Regions from separate parts of the Homo sapiens genome. Here regions 2 and 3 are each linked to region 1. Evidence: promoter capture Hi-C in 16 types of primary human blood cells and fetal thymus (Javierre and others, 2016). All regions are on one chromosome and are shown on one strand. Each heading gives the region's core, a stretch centred on a gene start or on the middle of the fragment in contact. The rest is flanking DNA. Distances are from core to core; before and after follow the strand shown. Region 1 holds the start of ENPP5 (ectonucleotide pyrophosphatase/phosphodiesterase family member 5). Region 2 holds the start of CYP39A1 (cytochrome P450 family 39 subfamily A member 1). Region 3 overlaps CYP39A1 (cytochrome P450 family 39 subfamily A member 1).

What was found. Contacts are between HindIII fragments. The CHiCAGO score rates a contact against its expected background, and 5 or more counts as called.
Region 2: the fragment with the promoter of CYP39A1 here is called in contact with the fragment with the promoter of ENPP5 in region 1 in 3 of 17 cell types (naive B cells, non-activated CD4 T cells and total B cells); the score reaches 5.9 in naive B cells.
Region 3: a fragment that was not itself captured here is called in contact with the fragment with the promoter of ENPP5 in region 1 in 1 of 17 cell types (naive B cells); the score reaches 5.7 in naive B cells.

What each region holds. Positions count from the first base shown.
Region 1 is chr6:46,168,620-46,172,925 of GRCh38, forward strand. It overlaps ENPP5 (ectonucleotide pyrophosphatase/phosphodiesterase family member 5), which reads right to left and starts at 2,361. Exons shown (of 5, transcript NM_001290072.2): 1 at 2,189-2,361; 2 at 1,434-1,495. RefSeq lists a silencer at 2,533-2,592. The HindIII fragment of the contact is 3,442 bases long and covers 1,679-4,306 here.
Region 2 is chr6:46,650,783-46,655,088 of GRCh38, forward strand. It overlaps CYP39A1 (cytochrome P450 family 39 subfamily A member 1), which reads right to left and starts at 2,036. Exons shown (of 12, transcript NM_016593.5): 1 at 1,624-2,036. The coding sequence starts at 1,800. SLC25A27 (solute carrier family 25 member 27) reads left to right here and starts at 2,193. Exons shown (of 9, transcript NM_004277.5): 1 at 2,193-2,516. The coding sequence starts at 2,411. RefSeq lists enhancers at 1,941-1,990, 2,221-2,350 and silencers at 2,011-2,100, 2,531-2,630. The HindIII fragment of the contact is 2,676 bases long and covers 98-2,773 here.
Region 3 is chr6:46,622,006-46,626,311 of GRCh38, forward strand. CYP39A1 (cytochrome P450 family 39 subfamily A member 1) reads right to left here. Exons shown (of 12, transcript NM_016593.5): 7 at 3,413-3,503. Among named protein-coding and RNA genes, the nearest start is that of CYP39A1, 29 kb to the right of the region's middle. The HindIII fragment of the contact is 1,974 bases long and covers 824-2,797 here.

The DNA of each region.
Region 1 (4,306 bases), core at 1,111-3,610:
GATCCAGACTTTTGACTTCTGGTCAGAAACTTTTTTATAGTCAAATACCTGTGAACATCCTTAACATTATGGCTAGAGCAACTATGGCAACCTAGCAACAATGAAGTATCATTAGCAAATCGAATAATGGTGCATATACATATATATTATATATATATGTATATGCACACTTCTATTTTCAACCCCTATGTTTGGTTAATCACAGACAAAAGATGTATTACTAAAGAGAGAGGAAAATAGATGAATTTGGTTTCTTGAAGTGAAATAACATTTGTGACATCCAGATATATTTATTGAAAAGTAATCTGCATTCATTTATTAATAATCAAATCACAGCATTCGTTGAACTAAATAATTAGATTCTAAACTAAATATTAACAGAAATATAATTCTGAAATTTGTTGTTGACTTTCCTAATGTTAAAATTTGTCAAAATTTAATCTTATCATTGATAGGTGTAGTAAAAGCACTTCCCTGGTTTAAAGCTCTGTGAATCAAGGTTGCTGGTCTTTTCCCCTAATCTGTGTATATTTCTAAAATACTTTCATTCTATTGAAGAAAGCTAATAAGACGCTGTATGGATAAACAATAGATATGTAAATTTTGTCAGTTTTCATCAGGCGTGCACATCCAGCAGGGATCTTTTGTTCTCTCATTTTTCTACCCATTCCTGCATGAAGGTATTTATAAACCCACCAAAACTTAGATCAAACCACACTTGTACAAATAAATCTCTTGAAACTGCCTTTTGATATCTTCCTAAGCTGAAGACTTCTTTTTTTTTTTTTTTTGAGAGGGAGTCTCACTCTGTTGCCCAAGCTGGTGTGCGGTGGCACGATCTCAGCTTACTGCAACTTCCGCCTTCCGTGTTCAAGCAATTCTCCTGCCTCAGTCTCCCAAGTAGCTGGGACTACAGGCGCCCGCCACCACACCCAGCTAATTTTTGTATTTTCAGTAGAGACAGGGTTTCGCCATGTTGGCCAGCCTGGTCTCAAAACTGCTGACCTCAGGTGATTCACCCTTCTCGGCTCCCCAAAGTGCTGGGATTACAGGCATGAGCCACCGCAGCCGGCCTGAAGACATTTTTAAACTTCAAAAATATATCCTGTTTCACCTTGCTGTATTATAGGTACAGGTAAATAAAAACTACTTGGCATGCTTGCTTTGCTTTCAGAAATACAAGGTATATGTACATTGTGGGTATTCGCTGAGGGCAATAAATTCTGTTTTGCTGGTTTTAAACTGTGTTTTCACCATACCTAGACATTTCTTAAACTGAAATTGTTTTAGGTATTGGTCTCAAGATGATAGCTCAAATGTCATATTTAAAAACGATTTCTTGGATGGCAATACTCTCTCTGATTCTGGAAGGAACATTAAACACAGTTGCAGCAAGGAATAGCAAATAGGTTACTGCAAATATATTTACTCACCTATCTGGCTATGGATGGTAGTTGCTCTCTCTGTCCTTTCTCCCCCTAATTTTCTCTCCCACCTTTTTAAAACAAGGAAGGCTAGTATCAACCAAATGTAATTTAAGGCTAAAAGCAGAGGAAATAAACTACATGGAACACCTCATTTTCATCTATCTTAGCAAATTAATTCGGCACATGTGTAAGCAGGAGAAAACTGCTTTCTTGGGACCAACAAAAGTAAGCAAAGATTAAGTGTTGTCTAAAGCTTAGGAATGTTTGGCAAGAAGACTCAACATCACATCCATGACACAGAGCAATAAACAGAGGTGGGGGGTGGGGAATGAAAACAATCAGAATTTTTTTTTTTTTCGTGCACAAAATGCTGCACAAAACAGTGGAATCCCTGGATCTGGCTCCACATTTCATTGAGTACTTTCCAGTTCTTTCTCCCCTCCAACCCTTCCTCCACAAACAGACTTGGAGAGCAGGAAGGACGGGGCACCGATTAAACGGAAGAGGGAAAGTGCAGAAGGAGTAGGTTTGTGTAGCTCGGGTAGACGTCAAGGGCGGGGGTGTCCATCTTCTCCACCAGGATTCCATCCTAGCCACCCAGAATGGTCGCGGCGTAGGTTATGTTCCCAATTCCCAGTCATCCCGCCCACCGAGGCCTGGGCTTCTTAGATGTGCAGTGGCAAGGAGGGGACGTTGCTTTAGGGACCCAGAGGAGCAGTGTGGGTTCCCGGGAGGGAAGCCACCCACGCCCCTGGACTCACCCTCGCAGCGATCCGTTCAGTCCGTATTAGTTTGGAGCAACGGGAGGGAGGGTCTGGAGGAGACTCCCTCGGGCGCGCCGCGGGTAACGGCGGGAGGGTGACTGGAGGAACGCCCCCGGAACGCGCAGGAGCTCACCTGCGCTCAACTCTGGAGCGGAGCACCTGACCGCGCCGCTTCCCCGCCCCGCCTCCTGGCTTCTATTGGCTGCTGCAGAGATAGTCACTTCTGCCTGGGTTGCCCCCGAAAGCCAGGCTCCCAGGAGTAGCTGCACGGCCTGTCAATCAGCGGGGGCAGGGGCGGGCGCTGCCTGGGTTTGGAGGGTGGAGGGGGAGGGGACTCCCGGGGGCAGGGACCCATCTGGTAGGGCGAAGGCGTGGGATGGCCAATTGCTTGGTCACACACAAAACCTTCCGGCAACGTGCCTTTTCCAGGGGACCAGCTGTGCTGGAGTCAGTGATGCTGAGAGATTATTGCGTGTTACCCCAATGGTGGGTGTACTCTAACAGTCACTGTTTTTTGTTTAAAAGCGACTTGTATTCTCTGATTTCTTATCCCAGGCTTTTTTCCTTCCCCCGCCCCCCGCCCCCTGCCTTGTCACGAATTGGCGATGGGGCACACCATGGGCTTTGCTCTGAGGAACACCTGCACACCCGAGGATGCCAATGGGACGATGAAGTTTCATTCTTTTTATTAGTGGGTGTTATCTGCTTTACCTCAGAAAGAATTTATTAACCTAGTCAACTCTGCAGCCCCAACGTTTGCAGTCCAGGTTTTTGCAATTGAGGTCCCTGAGGTATATTTGTGGTGTACCTAGCATGGCACCTGAAATTGTGCGAATTAAACCAAGACAGGTTCAGAATTAGGTTAATTTGCACAGGAGAGAGGCTGAACAGCCACCCTCTCTGGTGGTGGCATCCGAGCTCCAGACTCTGTTTCTACCTTTGTTTGCAAAGTAAACATTAAAACTACAAACATCAGGCCTGATTACTCTTTCAGAAAGCCTTCAGTGCTTCTTGTGTGTTAGTGCCCCTATTTTGTCTTTTTCCGTACTGTAGTGGATTATTTTCTCAGTTTTTTTGGGATAATCAATGGCATTTTTAGGCCTGAGGGAGTGTAGGCAGGTACTTAGTTTGCCAGTATGATCCCAACTGTCTTTACCATAAATTATAGCAGTGATATCAAACTACCCTGAAAGAATTTGTCCATCTACACAATCCCAGCTAGAATTCTGACCTAATTAGAATTCTAGTTCTATCTGCAGTAGGCAATAATATCAGGTTGATTGTTACAATGTAAGTTTAACATCTAATTAGCTGGTAAAACTGGGAGCATATCTGCAATGGTGGTTTTGGCTCCTGCCCGGAGCTCGGATCCCTTGTCTGGTGTGCTGGAGCTTTAAAGTGAATAGAGATATCTGTTGATATTTAATTAAGCCATGCAAACATTTTGGTCATAGCTTTTTCTCTGTCTGCTTCTAATAGAGGGACAATCTCAACCCCAAACATTGTTACCTCCTAACTGGGTCATCCCATCCCGAAGGGCATCTGGGCACTCTTCCATGGCCTTTTATTCGTGGTAACTTGAGTTTATGGTTTTCAACACGTGGGATGGGGATTAAGAGGGAGGCTGGTTTCTATGTTTAGTGAGACCCAAACACAATGAAGTTGAACAAGTTGTTCCAATTCCCCAAAGCCCTGTCCTTTGAAATTGCCCAAACTTGGAACAGAGTGGTCCAATCTTGTAAGTCCTTGTCCCCCAGAATAGGTCAACTCTGTGCTCTCCCAAAACACTCAAAGGACAATGTACGCTTATCAGAGAGCAGGAGTGGTGAAAATGGGCCTGACTTTTGTTCGGATCACTGAACATTGTTGGACTCTGTTTGGATGACAACCTGCTTTGCTCTGCAAATTTTATGGAAGTTATGATTATATTCACCAGCTATTCCTGTGAAATAGGCATGGTACAGCTGGTAACCACAGTGCACAACACAGAAAAGTGCTCATAAGACTGCCAGATTCCTCCCAGAAGTCCATATAATGATATCTAATGTTCACCTGATAGGCTTGCTATTACCTTATGTTGTTCATGGGGAGAAAGTCTGGTTTACATAGTATAGA
Region 2 (4,306 bases), core at 786-3,285, 480 kb after region 1:
TGGGATTACAGGTGTGAGACACAGAGTCCAGCAATAACTTGTTTTGTTTAGTCAGGAAAGCAATAGAGACCTCACAAATATTTAGCCTTCTGACACAAGCTTGTAAAAAAACAGTTCCTTAAAAATTATCAAGATCATATGCATAAGGAAGGCTGTGGGAGACAAAGGAGTATTTCTTTAGGAGATATAATGTTTCATCTATCAGACTAGCAAAAATTGCAAAGAATTATGGTATTCAGTATGGCCCAGGATTTGAGAAGTTAGGCAATTGCATACAGTCAATGGAAAATAAAAATTGCATATTCATACTTCTTTTTCCAAAAGTAACACATTCATATAAACAATTTAAGTGTGCATGTCCTTTGACTCAGCAATTCTACTCCTAGGAATTTATTCTGAGTAAACAATCAGATAATTGCAAAATGTACAACCACACAATCAATACATGCACACAAACACGCAAGAATGTTCACTGAAGCACTGGCTGAAAGAAAAAAGTTTGGCAGCAACCTATAAACCCAACTATTGAGATTTAAGTAAACTATTGTATCCTCCTATGACAAAATATAGCCATAAAAGGAAGATTCAAAGTATTTCATGGTACAGGAAAGTCATTCACATTATATGTTAAAATCAAAAGCACATAAAAGAGTATTATACTATTATTCCATTGTTGTTCATTAAATAGTTGTAAATACATAGGAAAATGACCAAAATAATATAAATACACTAAATTTTTACAGTACAGCTGGTGTGATATTCTGGGTTATTTTTATTTTCATCTTAGTTCTCTTTAATTTTCTATATGTTTTTTACTAAATTGGAATCTCAGAGATTTTGAAGGCAAATGATCAGTGGTAAAATAATGCTACTACGTATAAATTCATTCTACAAATTGGGCTAACCAGATGGAAAATGGGTCACCACAGAAAGTATTATAATTCATAAGAATAATTATAATATCATACAAATTTATTAGACAATCAAATACCATAAAATATTTGTGACTGGAAATTGAATAAAACTTAAAAGACATTAATAAAGGTCTGTTCCTTAAAGTGCTCAGACATTTAAAAGATACTTTCAAGACAAAAACATCTACTACAAGGAGGATTACTAGTCTCTTCAGGCCGTAGTGAAAATGGAGTACATCATCATCAAATAACAACGTCAGCTAAAAATACAGAGCCTGTTTATTGTGTACGGACCAACTGTGCAAGCAATTTGTACAATACTTTGGTGTTAACTCCAATTTGGATACGAATTACTCATTTTCACAAACTTAAATTGGATTACACTTTATCTTTCCCAATTACTGAAAACATTTACTTAACACATACACATTTGGAACTTAACTTCGATGAAGTAAAAATACGAAAAGTTAATCTCTACTTCCAAAAATGTCGATGCACGCTGCAATTGTATTTCATTTCTTTCGCAAAATTTTGCACAGGATATTGTTGTTAATTGTTAGTAGAGGAATTCAGAAATGACTAGATCCTTTAGTTGAGGCAAGCAGGTATGTTCCCCGTGTTCTAGCCCTGCACTTAAGAGTCAATGAAAGAAAGTTTAAAAAAGAAAGCATTGTCTCCTCTGGAGACCCCGTCTGCCACGACCACATACCTTGATTCTTGCTTTCTCTATAAATTCTAGAGGGGCTTTCCCAAACTCAAATCCAACTCCAATCCAAGGAATCCAGCCCTTGATGCACGGGGGTCTACGCAAATTCTTCCGCTGAAGGAGTAAGAACAGAGCAAGGCAACCCAGGATTATAATCACTGTTGGGGAAATTAGTTCCATGTTTTTGTCCAGCACCTTCCAGAAGCAGAAAAGTGTGAAACAGTCCTGCCGTCCCTTGCTTCTTTTCTGTGGGCTACGGAACCTGTCGGGACTCCCAACCTTTCTGCTGCAACTTTTGCAGCTCTCCTTCGTAACTGTAGCTTCCTTCCTCTGTCCCAGTTTTCAGGTGATTTTTCCATTGTCGCTCCCTCCCACCTCCACTTCTCTTTGAATCTCAGCCAGCGCGGAAAAAATGCAAGGAGGGGCAGGGCCGGGCTAGGACTGACGGGCGAGAACCAGCCGCGTTGCCATGGAGGCCGGGGGCGGAGCCGCAGAGGGACCCGCGGCCGGCCAATCAGAGACGTAGCGGAGCCCGGCGGACTACATTGCCCAGTAACCTCCTGGGCTCCGCTGTGTTTTTCTATTCTGGGGTGTAAGGGGCAGCTGGACCACTCCAGCTGGGACTGCTAGGAAGGTTGCGGGTCCACCCGGCCGAGCCGAACGAGGGAAATGGTCCTCACCCGGCCACTCGCCGGTTGAAAAGGGGCCGCCCTGGCAGGGAAGCGGCCGCCGCGGCGCGGTGCAGCGCAGCGGCGAGAAGGAGTGCGTTATCGTCTTGCGCTACTGCTGAATGTCCGTCCCGGAGGAGGAGGAGAGGCTTTTGCCGCTGACCCAGAGATGGCCCCGAGCGAGCAAATTCCTACTGTCCGGCTGCGCGGCTACCGTGGCCGAGCTAGGTACCCGGCTGCCCACGCCTGGGCCTCCCGGGCCAGTGGCACGCGCCGCGCTGGGGGAGGGTGCGCGGGCGGCTTCGCGCCCGGCAGTGCGCATCGGAGAGGTCGCCCCTTCCATGCCCGCCTGGCAGAGGTGGCGGTGGAGGCCAGGCCCGCGGTGGGAGGAGGAGGGATTGAGGTCTCCACGGCCTTTTCCTTCTAATCTCTTCTAATGCTTCCCTTAGGCATGTGCTGTGGTGCTTGAATGTTGTACTTTAAGAAGCTTCGCGAGCTGTCATTCCTCTGTAGGAATCATTTTCCTTTTCATGAGGATGACCTTTTTAAAAACGTAATCTGTTTTCCATCCTTACTGAGATCATCTCTGTGGTTTATAGTCTTACACAGCCACACTGTCATTATCTTGTGGGTCCAAGTTGTGGACCTACCTTGTGGGACTTCCGTTATTAACCTGCCACTCACAGAGCATCGACTACTTGACCTCTTTGAGTGTAATTCATCTATACTGTTTACCTTGCAGGATTCTGAGAAGTCAATAATATATGATTGCTAAACCCAAGGCAGGACACCCATTAGTTGCGACATTTTTATAATTCCTACAATACCAGGGACTGTGGATATATATTTGAAAAGACCCAGTTCTGACCTTCTTACAGGCTGCTGGGGAGACAGAGAAAGACAATTATAATGTGCTACTTGTTATAATGAAGATATTATTAGGTGTCATAAAAGCATAGAAGAGCAGTTACATCTGCCTACATGAGTAAGAAAAAACTTTAAGAGGCCATCTAGAGTGGAATGATGATGCCCTTGAATGAGCAAGTAGCGTTTATTCCAAGGATTTTGTGAGTAGTATACTCATGTGTTTCCTGTGAAGCCTTAACTGTGTATTTTAAGATTACCCTTACATTTTCTTGCCTGTTACAAAAAAATAAAAAGAACAGTTCTGATGCGTTATCATTTGTAAATGTTAGTTGGTCCTATTTTAAGAGTTTATTTTTTAATTCTAGCATAGCCAGCCATGATCAGTTGTTTCGTGCTCTTCCATTTTTGCCTTTTAGCCCCTCTATTTTTTAATGTCTCTCCTTTCGAAAATGATGGAGAATTTTTACTTTTCATTGTTTTTACTGAAATAAAATTCATCAGCTTAAAAAGATCTAAAAGCAGATTGCTGAATGATATTTCCAGGTTTTATTTTTAATTGATGTGTCCCCCTCTGACTCAATGGCTTTTATACAGGACTATTCCTCGTTAAAAATTCATGGAGAGAATTGTGTGTGGAGAATGGATGGGAATCAAAATGTGGGATGGTTTTAAGTACAAACCACTTCAGGAACCTGAAGCATCATTTAACAAACCAGCGAGAAAACAAAACTTATTTTGAAAGACATAATCTGTGTAATATGGAGAAATCTATTAAGATTTTTCAGGTTTCATATGTCAATAAAATATTGCTTGAAGTCTATGCAAGCTACTTCTGTTCTAGGGAAACTGTCAGCAAGATACTAACTTTTCCAAAAACCAGTGGTAAGATTTAATATTCACTTCCCTTCCCCACATTGTTTTCTCTTGGAAAAGGTATACTAAGGTTTTGTGTCAGGTGGTGGTCATTGAAAAGTCTTATATAATGTAAGTAATGTTCATGAACTTGTCTGAATGTTATTATTTTAATTATTCAGGACGTTTTCTGTATAAGGTTATGAGCTCTATCTTCCTTATGTAGGCCGTTTAGCTTAACTGTATTAAGGTAAAAGGTCTGTATCTAATTTAAAACTTAAAACCAAAAAATTTTTCCA
Region 3 (4,306 bases), core at 561-3,060, 450 kb after region 1:
CTGAAAATCAATTAATGTAAAACATTATAATATAAAACTGTACACTAGACGAAAGGAGCCAGACACAAAGGACCACATATCATATGTTTCCATTTATATGGACTGTCCACAAAAGGCAAATGTGTCAGGACAATAAGTAAATTAATGGTCGTCAGAAGCTAGAAATAGAAGGAAACAGAAAGTGACTCCTAATGGGTATGGGATTTATTTTGAAGGTGATAAAAATGTTCTGGGACTAGACAGTGTTGATGGTTGCAATCTTATAAATATACTAAAAACTACTACATTTCACACTTTGAAAGGATAAATTTTATGGTATGTTAATTATCTATGATTATATATATATAATTTTATTTATAAGTTGATGCATGTTACATGCACACAAACTTATAGCTCAAGATGACAACCTGAGAACGCACTTCTACCTTCCTCTGCCCCAATGTCCCATTAAAAAAAATGAAGCCCAATATGCTGGCACACACTTGTGGTCCTAGCTACTCAGGAGGCTGTGGCAGGAGGATCACTTGAGCCCAGGAGCTCGAGGCTGTAGTGAGCTATGATCATTCCACTGTACTCCAGGTGACAAAGTGAGACCCTGTTGCTAAAAAGTAAATTAAAAAGTGTGCAATTAAAAAATAAAAACACAGCTGTAAAACAAGAAAAGGAAGAAGCAGATAATGAAGACTTAGGAAGATAATAAAGACTTAGATAATAAAGACTTAGATAGAAGGTGTACAGGATTAGTTAGAGGAAGTAGAATAATGAAAAGCACCACCCAAAATAATTGGGGCTAAGCAAGCATCTTCACAAAGGAGCCCCAAAAAGCTTTCATTTTAAAGTAAACAAATAGAGAACACAAGAGTAGGCTGAAAGGCAGCTATCAAGATAGTTCAAGAACTAACTGCCTTTAGAAAAGTGGTATGAGTCTGACCCTTTCCTTTCGCAAGTATTCAATAGTAGTTTTTACCCTGAGATTTGTTTTATAAGAAAGTTGGGCAAAGTGCCTAGAAGTGAGTGTTGAAGCCACAGAGATACAGCATTGGAAATTCATAAAAGACTTTCCCAAGAAGGAAATGGTGATCTTGCGGGAGACAAGAGCATAGAACAGAAAAACTGCTGTGCTGAGTCAGATTCCTGTTCCATGCCTGTGATGATAATTTGTACATGTAACTTGACTGGATCGGGGGTGCCCAGATATTTGACTAAACATTATTTCTGGGTGTGTCTGTGAGGGTATTACTAGTTGATATTAGCATTTCAATCAGTAGACTGAGTAGGGCAGACTGCCCTCCTATATGTGGGTGGGTAAATTTACTCAGGGTTCTCCAGAGAAACAAAACTCAACAGATTAGATGATGCCTAGATGATGGTTAATTCTATATGTTAACTTGACTGGCCATGGGGTATTCAGTTTAACCATTATTCTGGGTGTGTCTGTGAGGGTGTTTCTGGATGACAGATGAGTATTTGAATTCGTGGGCTCAGTAAAGTAGGCTTCCCTCCCTAATGTAAGTGTGCACCATCCAATCCACTGAGAGCCTGCATCAACAGCACATCATGGGACTCCTCAGCCTCCATAGTCAGGTCAGCCAATTTTTTATAATAAATGTCTTTTGAGTTTTCTCTCTCTCTTTATCTATGTATCTATTTACATCCTAATTGGTTCCATTTCTCTGGAGAATCCTGACTAATCGAATGTACTTAAATGTTCCTTCCTTGACAGAATCCTTTGTATGGACACATGGATATCTTCCTTGATATCAGCTTCCAAAGATCTGTGGACTCCTCTCACAACATTTAAATTCCTGAGCTGCTACTAGATCTTATGTATGGATTATTGAATAGCTTCTGTATAAGTATGGTTAAAAAAAAAGTTTGATGTCTTTCATAAATAGTTTTCAATTCTGCAGTAGTGTCTTATAGACTGAAAGCATCCATATAATGTAGCTGTTGCAGTGGTAGTACTATTCGAAGGAGCATTTTTTGTGTCAGAAGAGAACAATGGGTTTTAAAAATAAACAATAACATAGAAAAAGCAAAAAGGTTTTAATCTTTCTCCACTAGAACTGGGTTCAAGAGTTCTAGAATCAAGCCTTGTAGAAATTTAGATTAATGTTACACTTCTGTTGTGGCCTTTGGGTCAGAGAGGACCCCCCACGTTATCCCCATCATCCCCTCTCTACTCTTTTATTTCCTAAAGCCACAAATTTGGAGTACCCTAAGTCAGGAAAAGACTCTAGTAAGGAAATGATAAAGGAGAATATGTGACAATCAAGAGTGCATTGCCTTTTTCCATTTGTAGACATGTGGGCATGTGCCTTTCTATTTGTTTTGTAGATGCAAGCTGCACAAAGGCCAGTTGTCTTCTCTTATATTCACCAGTGTCTTTCCAGAATCTAACCTGTTAGCATTGTTGGCATTCAATGATAATGATGCTCACCATTTCTATAAGGTCCAGCATCTGCTGACGCATACTCAAGGCTCAGACAATATTACTTAGATATTCATGGTTGCCAAGCCAGTTTACTTTTTGGTTTAACTCCATAAGAAGCAATCCAAAAAAAAAAACTTTAAATAAAATATTTTCAGTAATCATGGAAGGGAGAGGGAAAACCATTAACTGGCATCATACCTTTTGCCCTAATATTATATTGTTTTCTTCCAAGAAAACCCTATCATTTCTTATTCTTTTTATATCAGGATACATAATACGACATATTAAGAAGTTTAAAAAAGTCAACTCCCCAGATTGGTCAAATTATGCTGAATAAACAAGTAGTTGAGTACTCTCTATTCAAGCTTGTATTTGCTTTTTAAAAGAGATGATAAATAAACAGCTGACATCTGAACTAAAGAGTTCAAGGCAACAATCCCTATTTGCAGCTCCTAAATCCTCAAATTTCTAACAACCATAAGGGTTTTTTTATTTCTTTTTGTTTACTTGTTTTTTGTTTGTTGTCTTTTAATAATCCTTTGGTAGCAAGCCTTACCTGACCTCTACAGTCCTATTAGGGCTCTTATGTAATATATGGAATATACCCTTATTACTTTTATAAAATCTGAAAAATCCTGAACTTGAAAACTGTGGACATTCATTCAATTGAGGTGAGGATCCAAGACATTAGAAGAACAAACAGGTGTATATATATTTAAGTAAGGAAATTAGGCAAATCACAATCTCTATAGCACTGATTTCATCATTTGGAAAATGAAGGAGTTGCACAAAAATATGCTTGACAGTAATTAAACTCTAGGATTCTACCTGATCAATTTATATCCTGATATATAACAAATTATGTTGAATTTTGGATTATGTTGAATTTTTATAAAATTATAGGTATTTAGCTTTGCCAATAATGTGTGACAAACATGCATTATTAGCTGTGTCTTCCTATATAATAAGGTTTAGTACCTGCTTTGCCAAACACAGAAGATATGCCTTCCATAATGGCCTTGTGGATATCAGGATGAGAAAGGACGTATGCAAGTGTCCAAAATGCAACCTTAAAAAGAAAAACATATATCAAAAATATGAACTTCTTTGAAGGTGAACAAAAGCATATTTAGTATTAGCCATACATATATTTTTTAAAAAGGATGATGTTTAAATTAACCTTAAGAGCACATTAGTAGAAAGCATATTTTGAAAACAACTAGATATTATTAATAAGAGATATGTAATATATCTCCAAGAAGCCAGATTTAAATTTTTATTTTGTCACTATAATTTAACTATATAATTTAAATAGATTAAACATCTATCTTCACTAAAAATGAGAAAAGTTGTTATTTTTACTAATGAGTAACACAAAATATTATATAGGCATATATTAAATTTTCAGAAGCAACTAGTTATGACACTTAAGAATATTAATCCAAAACAAAAACATTTCTTAAGATTTAATTTCCTTAGAATACAAGTGAATTAGCACATTTTATATTCTGCAACTGAAACACAGTAGTTTTAAATAAGCCCAGGAAAATGCAGCAGGAAACCATCCCGTAAACTAAATTATGAGAGTACTCAATGTCAAAAACAAAGTCCTTTTTTTTGGCTTTTTTTGGCTCTGAATTAGTAAATAAAAGAAAAAAAATTTTTGAGTCCTTTCACACTTGAATGCTATTGAATATAGTATATTTGCACATTTTCTCTCTTGGCCACTCAAACTTATTTCATATCTTTCCTCGTTGTGGTATTACAAGATAAAATCATACTGCTTTACATCTTAAAAATTAACTTCCTCCTCAGGTAAATAGTTTTGCTTCTATTCTTAGGTTACGTAATAAAGAAAACCTGTATAAAATC